2 separate regions of the Homo sapiens genome follow, and region 1 is linked to region 2. Evidence: promoter capture Hi-C in human tissues and cell types (Jung and others, 2019). All regions are on one chromosome and are shown on one strand. Each heading gives the region's core, a stretch centred on a gene start or on the middle of the fragment in contact. The rest is flanking DNA. Distances are from core to core; before and after follow the strand shown. Region 1 overlaps ASH1L (ASH1 like histone lysine methyltransferase). Region 2 holds the start of HCN3 (hyperpolarization activated cyclic nucleotide gated potassium channel 3).

Evidence for each region. Contacts are between HindIII fragments. The study calls those that stand out against the background at their distance.
Region 1: a fragment that was not itself captured here is called in contact with the fragment with the promoter of HCN3 in region 2 in 2 of the 25 tissues and cell types used here (dorsolateral prefrontal cortex and spleen).

The regions. Positions count from the first base shown.
Region 1 is chr1:155,464,664-155,471,677 of GRCh38, reverse strand. The region is part of intron 3 of ASH1L (ASH1 like histone lysine methyltransferase); the gene reads left to right. Among named protein-coding and RNA genes, the nearest start is that of ASH1L-AS1, 94 kb to the left of the region's middle. The HindIII fragment of the contact is 5,103 bases long and covers 446-5,548 here.
Region 2 is chr1:155,272,661-155,279,067 of GRCh38, reverse strand. HCN3 (hyperpolarization activated cyclic nucleotide gated potassium channel 3) reads right to left here and starts at 1,605. Exons shown (of 8, transcript NM_020897.3): 1 at 1,200-1,605. The coding sequence starts at 1,477. CLK2 (CDC like kinase 2) reads left to right here and starts at 5,564. Exons shown (of 13, transcript NM_001294338.2): 1 at 5,564-5,867. RefSeq lists an enhancer at 4,471-4,971. The HindIII fragment of the contact is 20,767 bases long and covers 1-4,274 here.

The sequences.
Region 1 (7,014 bases), core at 1,748-4,247, 190 kb before region 2:
TTACAAAGGATGCAGATCAAGAACAACTAGTTGAAGAGATACATAGAGCAGTGTTTGGTGCAAGAAGGGTCCACAGACCTCCATGCCTTTCCCCTTGTGGAATCCGGGCACATTGCCCTCCCAGCACATCACTATATTCACCAACCTGGAAGCTCCAGTGAACCTCAGTGTCCAGAGTTTTTATTGGGGCTCTGTTAGGTAGGCCGGATTGATTAGATCATTGGCCATGTTTTTTAATTCAATTTTCAGTTCTCCACTCCCTTGAGGTTGGGGTGACCCAAAGTTTCAGATTTTTAATTATGTGATTTGGTCTTTCTGGTCACCGGCCCCCATCTTGAAGTTACCTCAGGCTTTCATCTCACTGTCGTAACAGAGACATTCCTGTCACTTGGGTAATTACAAGGGTTTTTGAAACTCTGTGCCAGGAACCAGGGACAAAGACCAGCTATATTCTTTACTTGATCATAAGTCTAAATTCTTTTGTTAATTGTTCTCTATCTTGGAATCTCTCCATCTTCTTCACAATTACTGTTGATAAGTACATGGAGATGTGACTTGATTTTCTAATAGAAACTTAATATACTTTTTTCAGGTAGATGTGAGAATAGGTTTAGTTGTCTTAACAAAAACCAGTCGAGGAAAAGTTTTTAGTTAAGCAGAATACTAAATAAAAATATTAATTCAGGCTCAGATATCTTTTGTTTTGATCCCTTTGAAAGTCAGAACTGGTTTTGTTTAGGAGTATTTTATGTATTTGATTTTTATTCTTAACTATTCCCTTATGATGGTAGCTGTTCTTTCAGCAAACAGTTATTTTGTGCCTATTGTGTGCCAGGAGAAGGAACATGCTGTAATTCCAGCACTTTGGGAGGCCGAGGTGGGTGGGCCACTTGAGGTTAGGAGTTCGAGATCAGCCTGGCCAACATGGTAAAACCCTGCCTCTACTAAAAATACAAAAATTAGCCAGGCATGGTGGCACATGCCTGTAGTCCCAGCTACTCGGGAGGCTGAGGCACAAGAATCACTTGAACCCAGGAGGTGGAGATTGTAGTGAGCCGAGATTGCACCATTGCACTCCGGCCTGGGCAACAGAGCGAGACTCTGTCTCAGAAAAAAAAAAAAAAAGGTAATTTCTGCTTTAAAGTTGATTTATAGTTTAGACATGTATATGAATAGTTATTGACAGTTTTTTTTTTTGTTTTTTTTTGTTTTTTGTTTTTTGAGACAGACTCACTCTGTTGGCCAGGCTGGAGTGCAGTGGCACAATCTTGGCTTACTGCAACCTCCGCCTCCCAGGCTCAAGCAATTCTCCTGCCTCAGCCTCCTGAGTAGCTGGGATTACAGGTGTGTGCCACCATGCCCAGCTAATTTTTGTGTTTTTAGTAGAGACGGAGTTTCACCATGTTGACCAGGCTGGTCTCGAACTCCTGACCTATGGTGATCCACCCGCCTCGGCTTCCCAAAGTGCTGGGATTACAGGTGTGAGCCACCGCGCACAGCCTGACGGTTCTTAATATTGAGATACTTACAAGGCATTTTGGGGAGCAGAGAAGTGAGGGACTGACTTTAAAGGTCTTGGGAAGGAGGAGGGAGTTTTGAATTTAGCAGCGAAGAATAATGTGTGACACGTGTTTCTTACACTAGATATCAGCTTTGCAAGGGCATGGGGATGTGTTACTGTGCTTAGTTAAGTGTTAATGGTTTGATATGGGACCCAAGAGATGGGACTGGAAAGATAGGCAGATCATAAAGTCCTCGTTTATATGAGACTCCCAAGAGTATAGAGTTTACTTTATAAGGTATGAGAAGTTAAGGGTTTTAAGATGGGGAATAATTTGTTGAGATTACATTGACAGCAGTGTGATAGATGGATTAGTGAAAAGAGATCAGGTAGATCAGTTTGGAAACTGCTCCCACAAAATATTATGAGGCTCTTATTATGAGGCTCTGAGCCAAGGTAGAGATGATGTGATTAAGTGAAATGAGATATGCAAAAGGATAAGGTTGGAAATAGGTAATAAATTTGGATTTCAAGCCTGTTTTGTAGGACAGATGGATCTGTAGCTCAAAGGAGAGGTAAAACCTGAAGATAATTATAGATACTTTATTATTAAGGCTATGAGAAGGAATGACAATATTTATGGTGAATTCAGTGGGTTTCTTAAGTGAGTTTATTATAGTCAAGAGTGTCAAGTGGGTGGACGTGGTGGCTCACGCCTGTAATCCCAGAACTTTGGGAGGCTGAGGCGGGCAGATCACCTGAGGTCGGGAGTTCAAGGCCAGCCTTACCAACATGACGAAACCCCATCTCTACTAAAAATACAAATAATAGCCGGACGTGGTGGCACATGCCTATAATCCCAGCTATTCAGGAGGCTGAGGCAGGAGAATTGCTTGAACCTGGGAAGTGGAGGTTGTGGTGAGCTGAGATCACGCCATTGCACTCCAGCCTGGGCAAGGAGAGAAACTCCGTCTCAAAAAAAAAAAATTAATTAATTAAAAAAAAGAGTGTCAAGTGTTATGGGAGATTGGTTAGGTAAGTACTGAAAGTGGATGATTGGCTTTGGCGGTTAGTTTGTCTTGTGTCTGAGAGCCATTTGTATAGTGGCAAATGTTAGATTTCTGGAGGCTGAGGAATGGAAGTTAGGAAATGCAGACAATTAAAATTCTTACACCTTTACATTTTGCTATTTTTTCCTCAGTGTTTTCTTTTGTAGCACTTCTGACTGGTTTATTATTTGCTTTTTCCTTACAATGACATTGTTATTCTATAGCATTCTGTTGAAGATGTAATTACATTTTCTCAATCTGTGATGTCAGGTTGCTTTTTGAAGTATAAAGGTTTAAGAAATACATAATTACATATGATTTTTAAGTGATCTTCTCGGTCTTCAGTTGATTTTTTCCATATATAAATTTAAGGTAGATTCATTTTACATTTGGTATCATGTTAAAATGCTCCCAAAACTACCTACTGTATAATAGGTATTGCAATATTGTTGATCACCTTCAGGATATTATTATCCTGAAATGTCTCCCAGTGGTCCAAGCTGGGACAGTTTGAGCAACAAAATAAATATGAGAGGATTGGATTATAACCTAAAAAATAAAGTCAATATCTATAAATCCATGTTGATTTAAATAAATGATTGACTAAATAAATACTTGGCAGAAAAGAAGCAAATCTTCCTTACAGAAAAATTCCAAATAATATATGTAGAACACACTTTCAGGAGGTGGAACTTAATTTACCTCTTCTTGAATATGGACTGGACTGCTGACTTTTAAAGAACAGAGTATGAAGAGGGAAAAGCAGTAACTTTACAGTGAAGAGGCCTGGCAGACAGCACCTTAACCAAGTTCAAGGTTAACTTCACCAATGATAAGGCATGGTGATATCATGTACTCTCTGATAGAATGTGTTAAATCTAAGCAGAAAAAAAAAATAATAATAATAATAAAGGGCATTCTACAAATACTTGACCAGTACTAAAAAGTATCAAGGACCTGAAAAAACAAGGAAAGTCTGAGAAGCTTTTACAGAACAGAGAAGACTAAGGAGACATGACAACTAAATACAATGTGATATCCCAGATTGACAGTGAAAAAAGGACATGAGTGGAAAAAAATTGGCTAAATCTAAACAAAGTCTGGAATTTTGTTAATAGTATTATTCCAATATTAATTTCTTGGTTGTGACAAATGTACTGTAGTTATGTAAGATGTTAACATTGGGGGATGTTGGGTAAAGGACATACGAGTATTCTCTGTACTATCTTTGTAACTTTTATGTAAATCTGAATTTATTCCAGAATAATGAGTTTTTTTAATACAGCAGAATACAAATTGTTAAGTAAAACATATCTCAAACTGATAATTGATGAAATAAGAAATAAAGGTTATTTACTATTTGTATTGAGTGGATTCCTCATAAGTGTTGGTTGGGGGTAAAACAGGCATATTTGATAAATCATGTTGATATAAATTTCAGGAAAAATAAATGAAACCAGATTAGGGACACTGGAATGTGTAGCTTGGACCAAGGCATTTAACCCTTCTCTCCTTGTTTCAAAAATGGGGAATCAAACTGACTTATCACTTTGAGCATTTTTAAAGTAAACAAGTATATTCACTGTAAAATTAAATCTTATGAAGACTTAAAAGGAATAACAGCTATAATCACTTTTATAAATTATGTGCATATGGTAGTTAGCTTATTTTTCTAACATATACTGTTCTGTACTGTACAGACTAACAGCTATAAAATCAGCTTGATGCAAGTGAAATTACAGTAAAATTACACACTTAAGTAAGGCCAGGTTTCCTGGTTTCTCCCAATCCTGATAGTGATTCTATTTAATTTATGTATGTATGTTAGGTAGACATGAAATAGGTCTCATGGGCAAGAGTTTCTGACTTGGATGAGCAAGAGTTTCTGACCTGGAATGTCAGTTATTTCATCCCTGTTTTTCAGCATATGTGACTCATGGCTGGCTACACATGACAGAACTTACAAACCTGGATTCTAAAATTGGCAGAGCAGTAGAATGGAGTATTTTCATTTAGCATTTATAGCTTACAAGTCATAGAACAAGCAGACAATGGAACATTATTATAAATGATTTACTACATGTAAATTATATACATTATTTGGTGCATTCAGTGATGATGAATATTTTGTCCTCCAAGAATAAGTGAGGCTTAAACCTTTTTTTTTTGGAAAAAGTATATTCACTGTACAAGCATATAGATTGAAGCAAAGAATACTGAGTTTTCTCTTTAACTGAAGAGTATAAGCTTTGATCAGAATATACTGATCTCAAACAATTTCTCTAGTGCTGTTTATAAGACACACCTATGCAACAGTTAGAAGGAATAAGTTCAGATGTTCAGTAGCAGGGTGGGGTGACTATAGGTGACAGCACAATATTGTGTTTTTCAAAAATAGCTAGAAGAGAGGACTTGAAATGTTCCTGACACAGAAATCATAACTACGCAAGGTGATGGATACCCAAAATACTCTGACCTGATTCTTATACATTCTATACATGTAACAAAATATCACATGTACCCAATAAATATGTACAACTATTATGTATCAATTTTAAAAAGATTTAAAACATGATAGAAAAAAGATATGCCTATAAAGGAAGTGTGAACCTACAGAGATGAAAGAAAATTGTTTGTGGTGTGGTTAGTGCAGTTAGGGGAATTTCCAGAAGAATTCCATTTCAGTGAATGATGTCATTTGGGCATTATGAAAAATAGCCTAGTTAGAGAAAAAAACAGAGTTTTTGTTTTGTTTTGTTTTGTTTTGTTTTTTTGAGACGGGGTCTCACTCTGTCGCCCAGGCTGGAGTACAGTGGTGCTATCTTGGCTTACTGCAAGCTCTGCCTCCCGGGTTCATGCCATTCTCCTGCCTCAGCCTCCCAAGTAGCTGGGACTACAGGTGCCCGCCACCACGCCTGGCTAATTTTTTGTATTTTTAGTAGAGACGGGGTTTCACCGTGTTAGCCAAGATGGTCTCAATCTCCTGACCTCGTGATCTGCCTGCCTCGGCCTTCCAAAGTGCTGGGATTACAGACATGAGCCACAGCGCCCGGCCAAAACAGACTTTATAGCTTAAAAATCGCCAGAACAGGCTCTGAGTCATACTCTCTTGTAGTGCATTTAGTTGGTGCATCAGATAAAATGTATTGCTTTCTGTATTTCCCACAATTGAAAACAGCTGTTTTTATTGTGGACCCAGCTTTTACCTTAGCATTCAGCTCATTCACAAGAAGGTTCCAAGGTGGCTATCAACTGTGAACCATACCAAAGGATTCAGAACTTGAATCTGGGAACAAAAAAAATCTTGACCAGAAGTTCTCAAATAGTTTGATATTTTATGTTCATATTCCTTTACTATGGTAGCCATTTTTATTACAACCAATTTTGGTTCAGTCGTTGTTTAACACACATTCCCAAATAGCTTTGACTTATAAATAATGAAAGAAGAGAAATCTTTTTTAAAACTAAACTTTTGTAACAATTTAATTTTGGTGGGAAGGAACAATTTCAGTGTTAGAAACTTTTAAAGTAAATTATTTTAAAATCGATAATATCTTAGAACTGACTACTGCATAGCATTCTTCCAAATTAGCATACTTAATTTATTTTTCTGTAATTCACCCAAAGATATTTCTAGCATTGCAAACATCAAACATTCCACTCATATAAATGATTTCTTAGTTACTTGTGTCTTTAGTGTTGATCTCCAGAGTGTGACTAAAATTCATACTATATTAAGTTATAAAAGCTTTAATAGTGAACTTAGGCTAAAGAAACATATGTTTTGTCCAACCAACTATTGATTTAATTCACTGTTTTTTTTTTTTTTTTTTTTTTTGCTAATTTGTATTTGGCACCAGGGAAATTCCTTGTTTTTCTAGGCTAGGATGCTCAGGGCTTCAATGAGTAGTTAGTTGAATCTTTATTCTCATGATTTCTTTGGGATGCCTCCACCACTGCAGACACTATTATCAGTGAGAATTTTATCTATTCTGCTATCTTTGCCTGTTTTACTGTCTTCACACCCAGGCATCTGTAAAAGTAGCATTACTTTTATATCTTTGGTTTGTTTTAGTTCCTCCAGTGGAAATGTCAATCAAGATTTTTTGTGGCAAATCAATTTGAAAACAGGTTCTTGGTTTCTGCTCATTTTCTGTTTATTATAAAGATTTTCATAATCTTATTTCTTTATGATCCAGTTATGTTCTTTTTTTACTTTTTCAACTTTGACAGTTTGTATCCCTGATTTCATCTTACAGTTTTGCTGTAAAAGCACTACCTTTCCCCTCTTGTTTAAATTGGCAAAAATGTTTCTGTAAATCCTGTCTTTATCTTCAAAAGTTCATCAAATACTGGCCAAATAAAATCCAGAGAGTCTATAATTAAAATCACTTCCAAGGTTCCTTCACATTTGCAAGTTTGGTTTTAATTCTTAATTTTCTCTGTATTATTCCAATTTATGGT
Region 2 (6,407 bases), core at 356-2,855:
ATTCTTCTTTTCTCTCCTCGGCTGCTGAGGAGGAATCCTGTATTGTGAGACACTAAGAGAGGGGAGGGAAAGAGGGTTCGCCTAGCCATGAAAGCATCTTCACAGCCTGACTCACAGGTGGGTCACAAGCCTGGCGGGTGATGTAGTATAGAGAATGGAGAAGCACAATCAGAGGGATACCAGGCTTCTGGGGATCCGTCTGCGAGTGAACTGAGGGAAGAGAGTGAGATCCACAGGAGACTAGAAAAGGCGCACTGGCTGGGTGGGAACGAGGCAGCAAAGACAGGAGTGAAAGGAACAATGGGAGGAAGAGAGACATAGAGGGAGTGTGTATATATGTGGATTCAAGATAATGTCTGGGTCTACAACTGTATTTCGAGGCTCCAGATTCACACCTCTTCCTCTCTGCTTCTTTAGTTCCCCAGGTTAGGTGCTTTGCACACATCCCTGCCTCATCCAAGAGCTGTCCTTCATTTCCCCCAAGGACAGGGCTGCTGTCTTCCCCTAGCGACCTTGATGTAGAGGTACACCCTGACGGAGACTGTGAAATGGCCCCACCCCCACCCTCTGTTCCTTCTCTGGGAGTCACCTGGGTGGTGGTCCTGCCCCTGCTTTGCCGCCTCAGTCACTCTGAGTCTCGGCCCCGCCCCGCCGCCCCCGCCTTCAGCACTAGGGACAGCGACCAGAGCTGAGGTCTGGACCCCCCGCCCCCTTCAGCGTCCCTATTTTTCCTGGTAGTCTGTCATGCTGAACTAGGCAGGTGCTAAGGAGCGGGTGTGGGGATGGGAGATGGCGGAGCTCGGCTTCTCCCTCAGACTGGCCCCGATACTTAGAATATAATTTCCTAGATCTCCAGCAAGCAGGACTGGAGGAGGCAGGGGTCCCAAACTCTGGTAGTTCCTTTGGTCCGGATGGGGTCCCGGGTTCCTGAAAGAGGAAATCCAGGTCTCTGGAGATCCCCTGATGTCTGCTTGCCCCTTCTGGTGCCCCCAGCCTGTCCAGGCACGGAGGACCTCCGGCAGGGGATACCCGCCCAGGAATTCCCAGGCTAGACTGGTGCAAGTGACTCTCCCGCCCCACCAAGGGACCCCGGGCTGGAAATGAAGTGACCGTGGAGGGTGGGGCGGGCCGGGTCCCGGTGTCGCTGCCCGCGAGGGTGGGATTGATGTACCCTGCCCTCCCCGCCAAGCCCCCAATACCGGAAGTCGCTGTAGGGGTGGATGATCCAGGCCCCCGCTGACTTCACCCGCTCCTGCTCGATTTCCACTGCTTTGTGGCTGCCGAACACCCGAAGGGAGAACTTGTTGACCGTAGGCTGGAGCAGCGTCCCAAGGTGCCTCCTCTTAGGCTCAGGCCCAGATTTGGGGATCGGACCTGAGGCCGCGGTCGCAGGCGGGGGAGCAACGGGAGGCACCGCCTCCAGTCCAGGGGTCGCCCCTTCGCTGGCCCCCGCCGCCGGCCGCTGCTCTGCCTCCATGGCGCCCACCCCGCTTACACGCTCGGCCTCCTAGAGCCCTCTGTGGCCATCAGGTACCCGCAACCCCTCCAGAGCAGGAGTCGGCGCAGCCCCGCGGGCTCTAGCGGAGGCGTCGTAGGCTCGGAATCGCCGGCGCGCGGGGCGGAGGGGGTGTGTGCTAGACTGGCGGGCGGCGGGCGGGCTGCGCGGCGCCCCCTGGCGAGGGCCGCGCCAAGACCGGGCGGGGCTGGGACGCCGGGATCCTGGAGGAACTCCGAGAGGGGCGTGGCTTAGCAAAGAAGGCGGGGAGCGCAGCCTGAGCCAGGGAGAGGGCGTGGCCTAGCGTTGGCCTTTCATCCACTGAGAACCAGGGAGGAGGAGCCCCCTGCAGTGGCGGGAAAATCGGACGCGGGTTTGTAGCTTGAAGGACTTGGGAGGGAGAGGGATTGGGGACCAATGGAAGAAGTGGAAATGGCTTTTGGGATTCTTCTCCACTCTCGCCCAGGGACTTCTGTCCTGCTCCCGTCTTCTCTCAACACTGTCCTAGGCATATTCTTGTCTTTTGGTCTCCTCCGAACTGCTTCCCCTAGTATTTAATTTCCTAATTCATTCTGTCAGCCTTCACCAAGTGCAACTCTGCCTGTCATTGAGTGGATGCTGAGGAAACAAAAATGAATACAAAAGTCCTAGTCTTAGCATCTCCATGTAGTAATGGAAAACAACACAAAACAAAACAAAAACAAAGGCCTAGCCATAAAGCCACTGCTCATCTGTGCCCAACGACAGACAGGTAAATTGCAGTGCTATGCGAAGTGCTACAAATTCCTAAATATCTCAAATTCTCCCCTTCATCTCCAATTCTTATTACCACTGCCTCATTTCAAGCCCTCAGCATTTTTTCACTTAAATTACTTCGGAAACCTCTAAAAGAGTCTTCAACCTCTTCCAGGCCAATTCTTCTTCCATTCCCTGCCAGTTACCTTCCTAAAATCCAACTATGGCTGTGTCACTTGCTTGAAGCCCATCAAGCTTTCCCATCTTCTACAGGGGTACATTTAAGCTGCTTAGCATGGTGTACCAGGCCCAAAAAATTTGGACCTAGTTTCAACAGTCTCTCTTCTGACAGTCCCTCTCTTGAAAGCCACAGCCCCAATCATGCTGAAAGACTTTGTGCTGCCTTGTCTCTATGCTTTTGCAAATATTTTCTCTGCCTGGTATTCTCCTCCAATTCACTTTCGAACAGTTGGTTCAGATCTTGCTTTCTCTAGGAAACCTAGGAACACATTTCCAACTCTCCTTTCCTCAGGTAGGGTCTATTCTAGAGCTTTTTTACAGCAGCCAGGGCACCACTGTTTTGAGCAACTCATGTCACAGGGCTACCATTATTATTATTATTTTAGAGATGAGGTCACACTATGTTGCCCAGGCTGGTTTTGAACTCAGAGCTCAAGTGATCTTCCTGCCTTGGCTTCCCAAAGTGCTAGGATTACAGGCATGAGCATGGTCTCATTATTTATTTACAGATTTTCTCTCCTGTTAGATTGTGAAACTCTGAGAAACAGGAACCTTGCACCTGGCATAATTCTGGACACATAGTGGACATTCAGTAAATGCTTGTTGAATGAATTAATAATCTAGGAAAATGTTCCAGGAGGTGGAAGTGAAATCTTTACTTCTCTCTCCCCGACTCCTTCATTGATTGCTCTCCATGTTCTATTCCAGGGAACTTCTCTAAACTATGTCTGGTTATCTGATCTAACCTCCATCTGACCATCCTTCATCCAGCTCCTCTCTAATATTTCCTGACTTTATTTATTTACTCATTCTAGAGTCAGGGTCTTGCTCTGTTGCTCAAGCTGGAGTGCAGTGGTGTGATCATGACCCACTGCAGCCTCAAAGCAATCTTCCCACCTCAGTTTCCTGAGTAGCTGGGACTACAGGTGTGAGCCACCTTGCTCAGCTCCCTGACTTTAATATCGTTATTCTCAGATTATATTATTTCTCTTTCAATTGACCTTTCTGACCACTTCTCAATTCCTTCTGTAAAGTCTCTAACTCTTTCTCTTTCTCATTTTCTTTTTTTCTTTTCTTTTCTTTTTTTTTTTTTTTTTTTTTTGAGATAGAGTCTCACTCTGTCGCCCAAGCTGGAGTGCAGTGGCACGATCACGGGTCACTACAGCCTCAACCTCCCCAGGCTCAGGTGATCCTCCCACCTCAGCCTCCCGAGTAGCTGGGACTACAGGTGGGAGACACCATGAATGGCTAATTTTTATTTTTTATTTTATTTTATTTTAGACACAGTCTCACTCTGTCGCCCAGGCTGGAGTGCAATGGCACCATCTCGGCTCACTGCAACCTCCACCTTCTGGATTCAAGCGATTCTCGTGCCTCAGCCTTCCAAATAGCTGGGATTACAGGCACCTGCCATCACACCCGGCTAATTTTTGTATTTTTAGTAGAGACAGGGTTTCACCAGGTTGGCCAGGCTGGTCTCGAACTCCTGTGCTCAAGTGATCCACCTTCCTGGGCCTCCAAAACTGTTGGGATTACAGGCATGAGCCACCGCGCTTGGCCTAATTTTTGTATTTTTTTTTTTTTTTTTTTTTTTTTTTTTGAGACGGAGTCTCGCTGTCGCCCAGGCTGGAGTGCAGTGGCGCAATCTCGGCTCACTGCAGGCTCCGCCCCCTGGGGTTCACGCCATTCTCCTGCCTCAGCCTCCCGAGTAGCTGGGACTACAGGCGCCCGCCACCTCGCCCGGCTAATTTTTTGTATTTTTAGTAGAGACGGGGTTTCACCGTGTTAGCCAGGATGGTCTCGATCTCCTGACCTCGTGATCCGCCCGCCTTGGCCTCCCAAAGTGCTGGGATTACAGGCGTGAGCCACCGCGCCCGGCCTTGTATTTTTTTAAGAGTCTGGGTTTTGCCCTGTTGCCCAGGCTGTCTCAAACTCCTATGCTTAAGTGATCCACCCACGTTGGCCTCCCAAAGTGTTGGTATTACAGGCGTGAGCCACCTCGCCCAGCCTTCCTGTTCTTTTTTAAGATTTAGTAAACTGGCCAAGCGCCGTGGCTGATGCTTGTAATCCCAGCACTTTGGGAGGCCGATGGGGGAGGATTGCTTGAGCTCAGGGGTTCAAGACTAGCCTGGGTAACAAAGTGAGGCACTATCTCTACAAGAAAAAAAAAAATAGCTGGGCGTGGTGATGCGCGCTTTTTTTTTTTTTTTTTTTTTTTTTTGAGACAGAGTCTCGCTCTGTCACCCAGGCTGCAGTGCAATGGCCCGATCTCGGCTCACTGCAACCTCCGCCTCCCGGGTTCAAGCGATTCTCCTACCTCAGCCTCCTGAGTAGCTGGGATTACAGGCGCCCGCCACCATGCCCGGCTAATTTTTGTATTTTTAGTAGAGACGGGATTTCACCATGTTGATCAGGCTAATCTCGAACTCCTGACCTCGTGATCCGCCCGCCTCGGCTTCCCAAAGTGTTGGGATTATAGGCGAGAGCCACCGCGCCCGGCCCTAGTAAACTTGTATTTCTCACACATTATGTAAGCCACCTTAGGATACAGTTCTCAAGTAAGTCCCCCTTTTCGGCACCCGATTCTCCAACCCTCCATTGCTCAAACCTTTCCTCCATGGCTGTGTCCCCACCCCGAGTCGTGCATAACTTTTGTTGATGACAAAAGGTGGCAGACTTTTGTCCTGGGGATAGGTAGGTGAAGTGTTTTAAGAAATGGTTATTTTCAGGCTATGCAGAAGAATGAGACTTCACCATCAAGCCTCACTACAGTCAGGCTTGCAGAGCAGCGACACTGTATTGACAATGACAATCCTTTCTTTTAAACTCCAAACCTAACTAAGCCACACGTCTCCATGCAAAGGGTAAAAGATTGAAGACGGAGTGGGAAAGGACAGGAGGCGGGGCATAGCGGGCCTGGAAGGCTTCCAGCTTGTCCCTGTGGACCCTCCTCGCCCCTATGAACTTCCGCCCCCAGTACCTCCGAGGCTCTGACAGGCGGATGCCTGCCAACTACGTGAGCACGTGGTGGCGCGCGCGGTCCTGGGGGCGGAGCCCAGGGGGTAGCTGGGAAGCGACGCAGGACGTCGGTCCGTGCGTACGTGCTCGCTCACGGCGGCGGCGGCGGAGCGGAGAGGCCAGAGCCGGAGACCGAGCTGGGATCGGGCCCCGGGCGGGGGCGGTGCGAGCGGCGCCAAGCAGATCTTAGGGGCGGGGACGGAGCCGGGGCGGGCGGGACTGAAGCGGAGCCCGGGAACGGGGCGGGAGGTCCCAGGGTCCCGGGTTGGGGGGGTGGAGCAGCATTTCGTCGCCGCGGGGGTGCCGGGACTCCGGCCGCAGTGTCGCCGCCATCACGGACTTCCTGTGGGACAAGCGCACGGGCCTCGCCGCCAGAACGGTGAGCGCGCGGGTTGGCTGGCCGCGCGAAAAGATGGCGACCGCGGGGCGGGCGGGGTTAGGCTTGGGTTGGGGGCAAGGGACGGGGGCGAGATTTGGAGAGGAGGAGAGTTGAGACCTACGAAGCGACGGAGTAGGGAGATGAGGGGGAAGGAGGTCGGCCTGCGTTAGATGTACCAAGAAGACCTGTAGGAAGCTTGGGCGGAACCAGACTAGAAGGGATGATAGAGTAAGGATGGGAGTGGTTCCAGAGATGTGAAGGAGTGGAATATCAAAGTTGGACTCGGGTCCAATCAAAGCTGGAGGGGAGGAATACATCACCGTGTCACTTGGAACATGCAGGAAGAATTTGCCTGTAGGAGTTCTGGATTTTCTGAGTAAGAAAGGAAAAAGCAAAAGATTTCAAACTTGAGAAAGGTAGGCTAGTGATGTTTTGAGGGGACAGTGCTGTGAGGCCGTTTGATGGTAGTATGTGGTGAGATGGCATTTATGTGGCTATGCTGATTAGGATAACTATGCTGGGAAAATCTTGTGCTTGCAG